2 separate regions of the Homo sapiens genome follow, and region 2 is linked to region 1. Evidence: promoter capture Hi-C in human tissues and cell types (Jung and others, 2019). All regions are on one chromosome and are shown on one strand. Each heading gives the region's core, a stretch centred on a gene start or on the middle of the fragment in contact. The rest is flanking DNA. Distances are from core to core; before and after follow the strand shown.

Evidence for each region. The method cuts DNA at HindIII sites, captures the fragments that hold promoters and counts their contacts. A contact is called where the count stands out against the background at its distance.
Region 2: the fragment with the promoter of ERVV-2 here is called in contact with a fragment that was not itself captured in region 1 in 3 of the 25 tissues and cell types used here (dorsolateral prefrontal cortex, mesenchymal stem cells and stomach).

What each region holds. Positions count from the first base shown.
Region 1 is chr19:53,378,516-53,383,009 of GRCh38, reverse strand. It overlaps ZNF525 (zinc finger protein 525), which reads right to left. Exons shown (of 4, transcript NM_001348156.2): 4 at 1-2,288. The coding sequence ends at 991. Among named protein-coding and RNA genes, the nearest start is that of ZNF765, 14 kb to the left of the region's middle. The HindIII fragment of the contact is 5,110 bases long and covers 1-4,494 here.
Region 2 is chr19:53,042,732-53,047,225 of GRCh38, reverse strand. It overlaps ERVV-2 (endogenous retrovirus group V member 2, envelope), which reads right to left and starts at 2,486. Exons shown (of 2, transcript NM_001191055.2): 1 at 2,268-2,486. The HindIII fragment of the contact is 12,011 bases long and covers 1-4,494 here.

The DNA of each region.
Region 1 (4,494 bases), core at 877-3,376:
AAACCTTGCCACATTCATTACACTTGTAAGGTTTCTCTCCAGTATGAATTGCCTTATGAATTACAAGGGCCGAATTTTGACTGAACATCTTACCACACTCATTACACTTGTAAGGTTTCTCTCTAGTATGAATTCTCCTATGACTTTCAAGGTTTGATTTGAATCTGAAAGCTTTATCACATTCTTCACATTTGTAAGGTTTCTCTCCAGCATGAGTTCGCCCGTGAACTGCAAGGTATGAACGATGTCTGAAAAATTTGTCACATTTATCACACTTGTAAGGTCTCTCTTTATTATGGATTCTCCAATGATTTGCAATAGTTGTAGCATTACTGAAGACGTGGTGACAATCATTACATTTGTAAAGTTTCCCTCTGCCATGGATTGCTTGATGGTAAATAAGCGCTGACTGCCTATGAAAGGTTTTGCCACACTCATTGCACTTCTAAGGTTTCTCTCCAGTATGACGTCTATGATGGCATGTGTTAACTCCTTACTGAAGGTCTTGCCACACTCATTACACTTATAAGATTTATTTCCAGTATGAAGTCTATGATGGCGTGTAAGGCATGACTTCTGACTGAAGGTCTTGCCACACTCATTACACTTGTACGGTTTCTCTCCATTATGAATTCTCCTATGTCTTTCAAGATTTGATTTGTATCTGAAAGTTTCATCACATTCTTCACATTTGTAAGGTTTCTCTCCAGTATGAAGTCTATGATGGCATGTAAGGGATGATGTATGACTGAAGGTCTTGCCACACCTATTACACCTGTAAGGTTTCTCACCAGTGTGAATTCTCCTATGTCTTTCAAGGTTTGATTTGAAACTGAAAGCTTCATCACATTCTTCACATTTGTAAGGTTTCTCTCCACTATGAAATTTATGATGGTATACAATGGATGACGTATGACTGAAGATCTTGCCACAATCATTACACTTATAACATTTCTCTCCAGTATGAATTTTCTGACGTATTTCAAGATTTTATTTGAAACTGTAAGCCTTGTCACATTCTCCACACTTGCAAGGTTTCTCTCCACTATGAAGTCTACAATGGCAGGTAAGGGATAACTCCTGACTGAAGGTCTTGCCACACTCATTACATTTGTACAGTTTCTCTCCATTATGAATTCTCCTATGTCTTTCAAGACTTGATTTGAAACGGAAAGCTTCATCACATTCTTCACACTTGTAAGGTTTCTCTCCAGTATGAAGTCTACGATGGCATGTAAGGGTTGACATATGACTGAAGGTCTTGCCACAATCATTACACTTGTATGGTTTCTCTCCAGTATGAGTTATCCTATGACTTTCAAGGTTTGATTTGAAACTGAAAGCTTTGTCACATTCTTCACATTCGTAAGGTTTCTTTCCAGTATGAATGCTACGATGGCATGCAAGGTATGACTTCTGACTAAAGGTCTTGCCACACTCATTACACTTATGTGGTTTCTCTCCAGTATGAATTCTCCTATGTCTTTGAAGGGCTGAATTGTGTCTGAAAGCTTTGTCACATTCTTCACATTTGTAAGGTTTCTCTCCAGTATGAAGTCGATGATGATATGTAAGGGATGACATCTGACTGAAGGACTTGCCACACTCATTACACTTGTAAGGTTTCTCACCAGTGTGACATCTACGATGGCGTGCAAGGTATCGCTTCCGAATAAAGACCTTGTCACATACATCACATTTATATTGTTTCTCTCCTAGATGAATAATCTGATGTTTCCTTAAGAGTGAGCTATAATTAAAGGCTTTGCCACTCTCAATACATTGGAAAGATTTTTCTCTCATGCGTACTTCCTGTCTTTGTGTGAGTAATGAATAATTCAGAAAATTATCCCCATAGTTATTAGATATATGGGTTTTGGGCCTACAAGAAATTCTTTGGGCTGTTGAAACCGAGGAAGCATCGTTGATAGACTTCTCCACTTGATTATTAATTTTCCCTTTGGGCTGAAATATGTGGAGTTCAGACAGATGTGAATGAAAGCTTGATCCAAGCTGATATTTAATAGGCTTGTTTCCAGCATGCCTGTGATCATATTGCTCTGTACTACCCATCAATTTTTTGATTTTTGTCATGGGTGCTTCATGGCCATTTCTTTCATCTTCTTGCCACTGAAACTCAAAGTTATGAATATCTTTCTCAATTTCCTGGAAGGAAAAATCTCCAATGTGATGACGTTCATGTCTTTGCAATGTCCCTGTGTGGATCACTTCTGTATTGCCTTGTGCTGTTGATGAGAACTCCTTCATTGTGCATTTGGAAGAGATACCTACAAAATATAAACACTAATAGGTACACAAAAGACAATACTGATTTTAAACTTCCCAAACATGATCTTCAAAGTTTAGGAACACAAAATCGTAAGATTCTTTAATAAATAAAGGGCGATTACATGTGCTTCAAATTATTATTATGAAAGCTTATTTCCAATATCATGACAAAACACTGAAGGGCACAAACATGTGTAAGCCTAAAATAAGGAGTATTTTTCCACTGTGACCCTAAAGTGTCTAACAGTTTGCAAAAGACATATCACTGTCACATCAATGAAAAGTATATATTCTTCATATTTACAGCATACTTACTGTATACAAATAAATACTAAAGGACCACACAATATAATATACTGGTAAATAATCCACAGCAAGCTCATGTAAGGATAACCAAAATCAATGGAAATTCTGTATTGTTAAATAATCATAGCACTGAGAAGATAAGAAAAGTTTACAAAATTTAGCAAGGCATGGTGGTGCACGTCTGTACTCCCAGCTACTCGCAAGGGTGAGGTACAAGAATTGCTTGAACCCAAGAGGCAGAGGTTGCAGTGAGCCGAGATCGCACCACTGTACTTCAGCCTGGATGACAAAGTGAGACTCCATCTCAAAAAAAAAAAAATATTTTTCTGAATAACTGTCATAAAATTACCTATATCCATGCAGAAAAGGCATATTGTAACATTTAAAATTTTTTTTTTATTTTTGTATTTTTGAGACAATGTTTCACTGTGTCACAACAGGCTGGAGGGCAATGGCCTGATCTCAGCTCACTGCAACCTCCACCTTTTGGGTTCAAGCCATTCTCCTGCCTCAGCCTCCTGAGTACATGGGATTACAGGCACATGCCAGCATGCTTGGCTAATTTTTGTATTTTTAGTAGAGATAGGGTTACATCATATTGGCCAGGCTGGCCTTGAACTTTTGACCTCAAGTGATCCACCCGCCTCAGCCTCCCAAAGTCCTGGGATTGCAGGCGTGAGCCACAGCACCCGCTGGCACTTTGTGACATTAACTAGTAAACTGTGTCAGTTATATTGCATACCACATACCGAAAAGCTTTATGTAAAATCATAAAAATGAATTGGTAAAATAACTGTAACGCATAAAACCAGCAAGCAAATCATAAGTACATTTATACAAACTGCAGAATTCTAAACAATTCCCTGTTAAGAAAAAAGCACAACTTCTACTTACCACCAGCACACAATATAAGAACTGAAATACATGTTAAGATCACTACCTTCTGATGTATGAGGTCAAAAAAATATGCAGCATTATAATGAATAAGAATTCACTAACAGCCGGGTGCAGTGGCTCATGCCTGTAATTCCAGCACTTTGGGAGGCCGAGGTGGGAAGACCATGAGGTCAGGAGTTCAAGAATAGCCTGGCCAACGTGGTGAAACCATAACTCTACTAAAAATACAAAAAAATTAGCTGGGTGTGGTGGCGGGTGCCTGTAATCTCAGCTACTCAGAAGGCTGAGGCAAGAGAATCGTTTGAACCCAGGAGGTAGAGTTTGTGGTGAGCCAAGGTCCCACCACTGCACTCCAGCTTGAGTGACAGGGTGAGACTTCGTCTCTAAGAAAAAAAAAAAGAATTGACTAATAGTGCCGGAGGGTGCAATTATGATGTCACAACTACATTTATGAAACAGCCAGGCAATACAGCAATTCTATATATATATATACATTGCCCTATGTATCTAGTTCACTATGCATAAAATATAAAACATAGAATGTGTACTGGGAAAATTTATAAACTGAGATCAGAGAAAACATTGTATGAAACAAATTAAACAATAAAAACATAAATAAGATGATGCAGGCTCCCTGGTCTGAATGTTTGTATTGGCCAAACGCCATGTTCAGAGTTCTTATTCTCCAATAGGATGTTCCTGCAGATGGGGCCTTTGAGACAATTTGGTCACGGGTGTTGACTACTCGTGAATAGGACTTGTGCTTTCATAAAAAGAGACATTAAAGAGCTCGTTGCCTGTTCCTGTTTCCACCATGTCAGGACATGGCAGGAAGATGGCTGGGCTAAACCATGAGGAAGGCTCTCACCAGGAACCAATGTGGCTGGCACCTTGCTCTTGGATTTCCCACTTTCCAAACTCATGAGAAATAAATTTCTGTGTCTTAAGCCTCCCAGTTTAAGCTATTTCTTTTTTTGTTTGTTTTTGAGACCGAGTCACGCT
Region 2 (4,494 bases), core at 1,237-3,736, 340 kb after region 1:
CTGGTGTCCACCACCATGCCCAGCTATTTTTGTATTTTTAGTAGAGACGGGGTTTCTTTTTTTTTTTGACATGGAGTCTCACTTTGTCACCCAGGCTGGAGTGCAGTGGCACGATCTCAGCTCACTGCAACCTCTGTGTCCAGGGTTCAAGAGATTCTTCTGCCTCAGCCGCCTGAATAGCTGGGATAACAGATCCATGCCACCAGGCCCGGCTAATTTTTTAGTAGAGACAGGGTTCCACCATATTGGCCAGGCTGGTCTCAAACTCCCGACCTCGTGATCTGCCCGCCTCAGCCTCCCAAAGTGCTGGGATTATAGGCATCAGCCACCGTGCCCAGCCGATACGGGGTTTCTCCATGTTGATCAGGCTGGTCTCGAACTCACAACCTCGGGTGACACGCCCGCCTTGGCCTCCGAAAGTGCTGGGATTACAAACGTGAGCCAATGCGCCCAGCCTAGGTCTTCTTAATACATAATGATATTGGGCTAATACTAATGATTACAGGAACGGAAAAGATGTGATATCTTCCCCCACTCTTAAAAGGTTCCTTGGGGTTTATACAGAAAAAAATGCTTGAAAAGCATAGAAGACCCCCTGGGGCTCAGAGTTAGTGAACTGGGCTGTTGATTCTGGTTTTTTAGTCCATTATATGATCACATAAACAGCAAGGGGAATGTGAGAAGCATTTTCTATCAGCTTATTCAACAAAAAGCAAAAAGGACCTGAGTACTTCACGGGTCTGTTACAATGGCCTAATGAGGTGGAGAAAGCAGTCTCCTGTGGCCCATTGGAAACCCTGGTTGTACAGAGAAACTAGGGAGTAAGGAAGTGGTCACAGGTGACCCTCTGGAAGAGCCAGGCAGTTCCATTGAGGAGTCACAGAATGAGGCATTCTTGAAGAGTAGGCAGGCGGAGAAGGACCCAATAATAAGTGAGGGATTTCTTTCTTTCTTTTTTTTTTTCAGACAGAGTTTCGCTCTTGTTGCCCAGGCTGGAGTGCAATGGTGCGATCTCGGCCCACTGCAATGGCCAGCTCCCGGGTTCAAGCGATTCTCCTGCCTCAGCCTCCCAAGTAGCTGGGATTACAAGCGTGTGCCACCACGCCCGGCTAATTTTTGTATATTTAGTAGAGATGGGGTTTCACCATGTTGGCCAGGCTGGTCTTGAACTCCTGCCCTCAGGTGATCCACCCCCCTCAACCTCTCAGAGTGCTGAGATTACAGGCATGAGCCACCGTGCCCGGCCAAAATGAGGGATTTCTTTAAGCAGGCATCCTCCCAGTGCCGGTCCCTCCAGTGAAACAGGAGGCAAGGGAAAGGACAAAGCTGAGTCTCATTTCTGAGGAAAAAAGTATAAACATCAGCATAGGCCCTCAAAGGACTCTGGCGCCTGAGTGAAGCAAACGCAGCAGGTCCTGGATAAACAGGCCCTGCAAGAGGCTTGCACCCGCAGGAAGAATTCATGAAATCCCTGCGGCGAGGAGAGGGACAGCAAAGAGTAAGCAGAGTGACCTGGGAGATTAATCAACGGTGGGGGCATATGGTGTTCAGGGGAGTGAACGGCCATGAATGGCAAGTATAAGAGCTGACTTAACACCGGATTGTAGTTTTAATTAAAAGATATGCGCCGGTCGCAGTGGCTCACGCCCGTAATCCCAGCAGTTTGGGAGGCCGAGGTGGGCGGATCACGAGGTCAGGAGTTCGAGACCAGCCTGGCCAATATGGTGAAACTCTGTCTCTACTAAAAATACAAAAATTAGCCGGGCATGGTGGCACACGCCTGTAGTCCCTGCTACTCGGGAGGCTGAGGCAGAAGAATCGCTTGAACCCGGGAGGTGGAGGTTGCAGTGAGCCGAGATCACACCACTGCGCTCCAGCCTGGGCGACAGAGTGAGACTCTGTCCTCCCCCCCACAAAAAAAAATATGAAGCTCCCCAGTCACTGCACAGCCAGGCGTATTCCCTGCCACCTTCACAAGCCTCCTGCAAGAAGGGTCACCATGTGTCTCAGATCTACTCACTGTGGAGTTTAAATCCTCCCTCCTCTGCTTATCACCCCTCAGGGTGAGCTGAGAAATCAGCCAGAGGGAGCAGAGTGACAGTGGCTGAAGGGAAATGGTACTGGGCAGTCGTTAGTGAACAGAGCCTGAGAGGAAAAACCCCTCCCCTTAAAGCTGCCAGATCTGCATTAGGGCAGGAGGTTCTTCAGTGCAGAAAGAAGCAGAGGTCGTCAACCAGAGAATCTGGCACCAGCTTTTTGGTACTTACCTGGATAACCAGGCGAGGTAACCAGGTAACCAGGTGAAAACACCAGATGTTACCCAGAGGGGTGTGGAAGTCCTCTGGTTCTTGGTCTTCTTGGATTCAGTCAAGAGATGCGCAGAAAGAGTTAAAGGGTAAATGCCCTTCATTTAAAGAGACAGGAGCTCAGAAAGAAGCGACACCCTGAACGACAGAACCGAGTGGGCTCCTGAAAAGAAGGAGTCTGTCCTTACTTATGCTGGCCTGACCCTTTTAATGAGAACCTGACATGATTATTCATGAAGGGGCCGTGCACAGCCATTATTAGTAAGCATGTTCTGGGAAGTCATTTGGGCAGGAATGTGCTGTGACTGTCCATGCACACATCACATATCTCCTTAGCATCTCAAATCTCCACCCAGGGGTGTGGCTTTTTTTTTTTTTTTTTTGAGACGGAGTCTCACTCTGTCGCCCAGGCTGGAGTGCGGTGGCGCTATCTCGGCTCACTGCAAGCTCCGCCTCCCGGGTTCACGCCATTCTCCTGCCTCAGCCTCCTGAGTAGCTGGGACCACAGGTGCCTGCCACCACGCCCAGCTAATTTTTTTTTTGTATTTTTAGTAGAGACGGGATTTCACCGTGTTAGCCAGGATGGTCTGGATCTCCTGACCTCGTGATCCACCTGCCTCGGCCTCCCAAAGTGCTGGGATTACAGGCATGAGCCACCGCACCCAGCCCTTATTTATTTTTTTCTAAAATCATATTTGAAAAAAGGGGATGTGTTTCTTAGTATTATAATGAGCAAAAGGCCATTCTAGGATGAATTATTAGAGGAGTGTGCACGCTCCTTAATAGGGAAAATCCCCTAGCTGGGTTATTTCTGGCTAGGGCCAGATAACTCCCTTCCTGGGCCAGACAAGTCCAGCCACAAGGACAGGTGTAGGCAATGTAGCCACTGTCCTGCTTTTGCTGTCAAAAGGGGATTGTCAGTGGGCTGTGTTTCTTAAGATTCCTTTCCCAGGGGCTCCTTTAACTGCTCATGCCTGGCTACCTACCTACTCCAAGCTGGTTTGTGGACAGAAATACTTTATTTATTTATTTTTTGTAAAGGTGTCTCACTCTGTCACCCAGGCTGGAGTGCAGTGGCGTGATCTCGGCTCACTGCAACCTCCAGCTCCCTGGTTCAAGCGATTCTCCTGCCTCACCCTCCCGAGTAGCTGGGATTATAGCCACATGCCACCACGCCCAGCTAGTTTTTGTATTTTTAGTAGAGATGGGGTTTCACCACTTTGGCCAGGATGGCCTTGATCTCCTGACCTCATGATCTGCCTGCCTCAGCCTCCTAAAGTGATGGGATTACAGGCATGAGCCACTGAGCCTGGCGCTAGAAAGACTTTTAAAGTAGTATCTAGTTCATCCACATTTGTATGTTTCTTCTATTCAATCTGAATGCAAATTTACCTGAAGGTTTTCCCCTGAGATCACAGAGAACAACTTTCTTCACCTTAATTTTATTTTCAGCTGGGCATGGTGGTGCACACCTGTAATCCCAACACACTGGGAGGCTGACACAGGCGGATCACTTGAGTTCAGAAGTTTGGGACCAGCCTGGGCAACGTGACAAAACCCTATGTCTACAAAAAATACAAAAAAATTAGCTGGGCATAGTGTCGTGACCCTCTAGTCCCAGCTATTGAGGAGGCTGAGCTGGGAGGATGGCTTGAGCCCAGGAGGTGGAGGGTACAGTGAGCTGTGATCATGCCACTGCACTCCAGCCTAGGGGACAGAGTGAGACCCTGTCTCAAAAACAAACAAAAAACAAAAAAACCCAATCAACATAAGTTTATTCTCATTAGGTTATTTCTCTGATCACAAGAGAAAATGTCTCTGAATTACCTTCCTTTGTCAGGGCTCAGCTGGTACCAAAAAGGATGTCAAGAAAATTTAGATTGAGGTCGGGCGCATGCCTGTAATCCCAGCACTTTGGGAGGCCAATGTGGGTGGATCACGAGGTCAGGAGATCGAGACCATCCTGGCTAACACGGTGAAACCCTGTCTCTACTAAATATACAAAAAATTAGCCGGGCGAGGTGGCAGGCGCCTGTAGTCCCAGCTACTCGGGAGGCTGAGGCAGGAGAATGGCGTGAACCTGGGAGGCGGAGCTTGCAGTGAGCCGAGATCGCGCCACTGCACTCCAGCCTGGGCAATGCAGCAAGACTCTGTCTCAAAAAAAAAAAAAAGAAAATTTAGATTAATA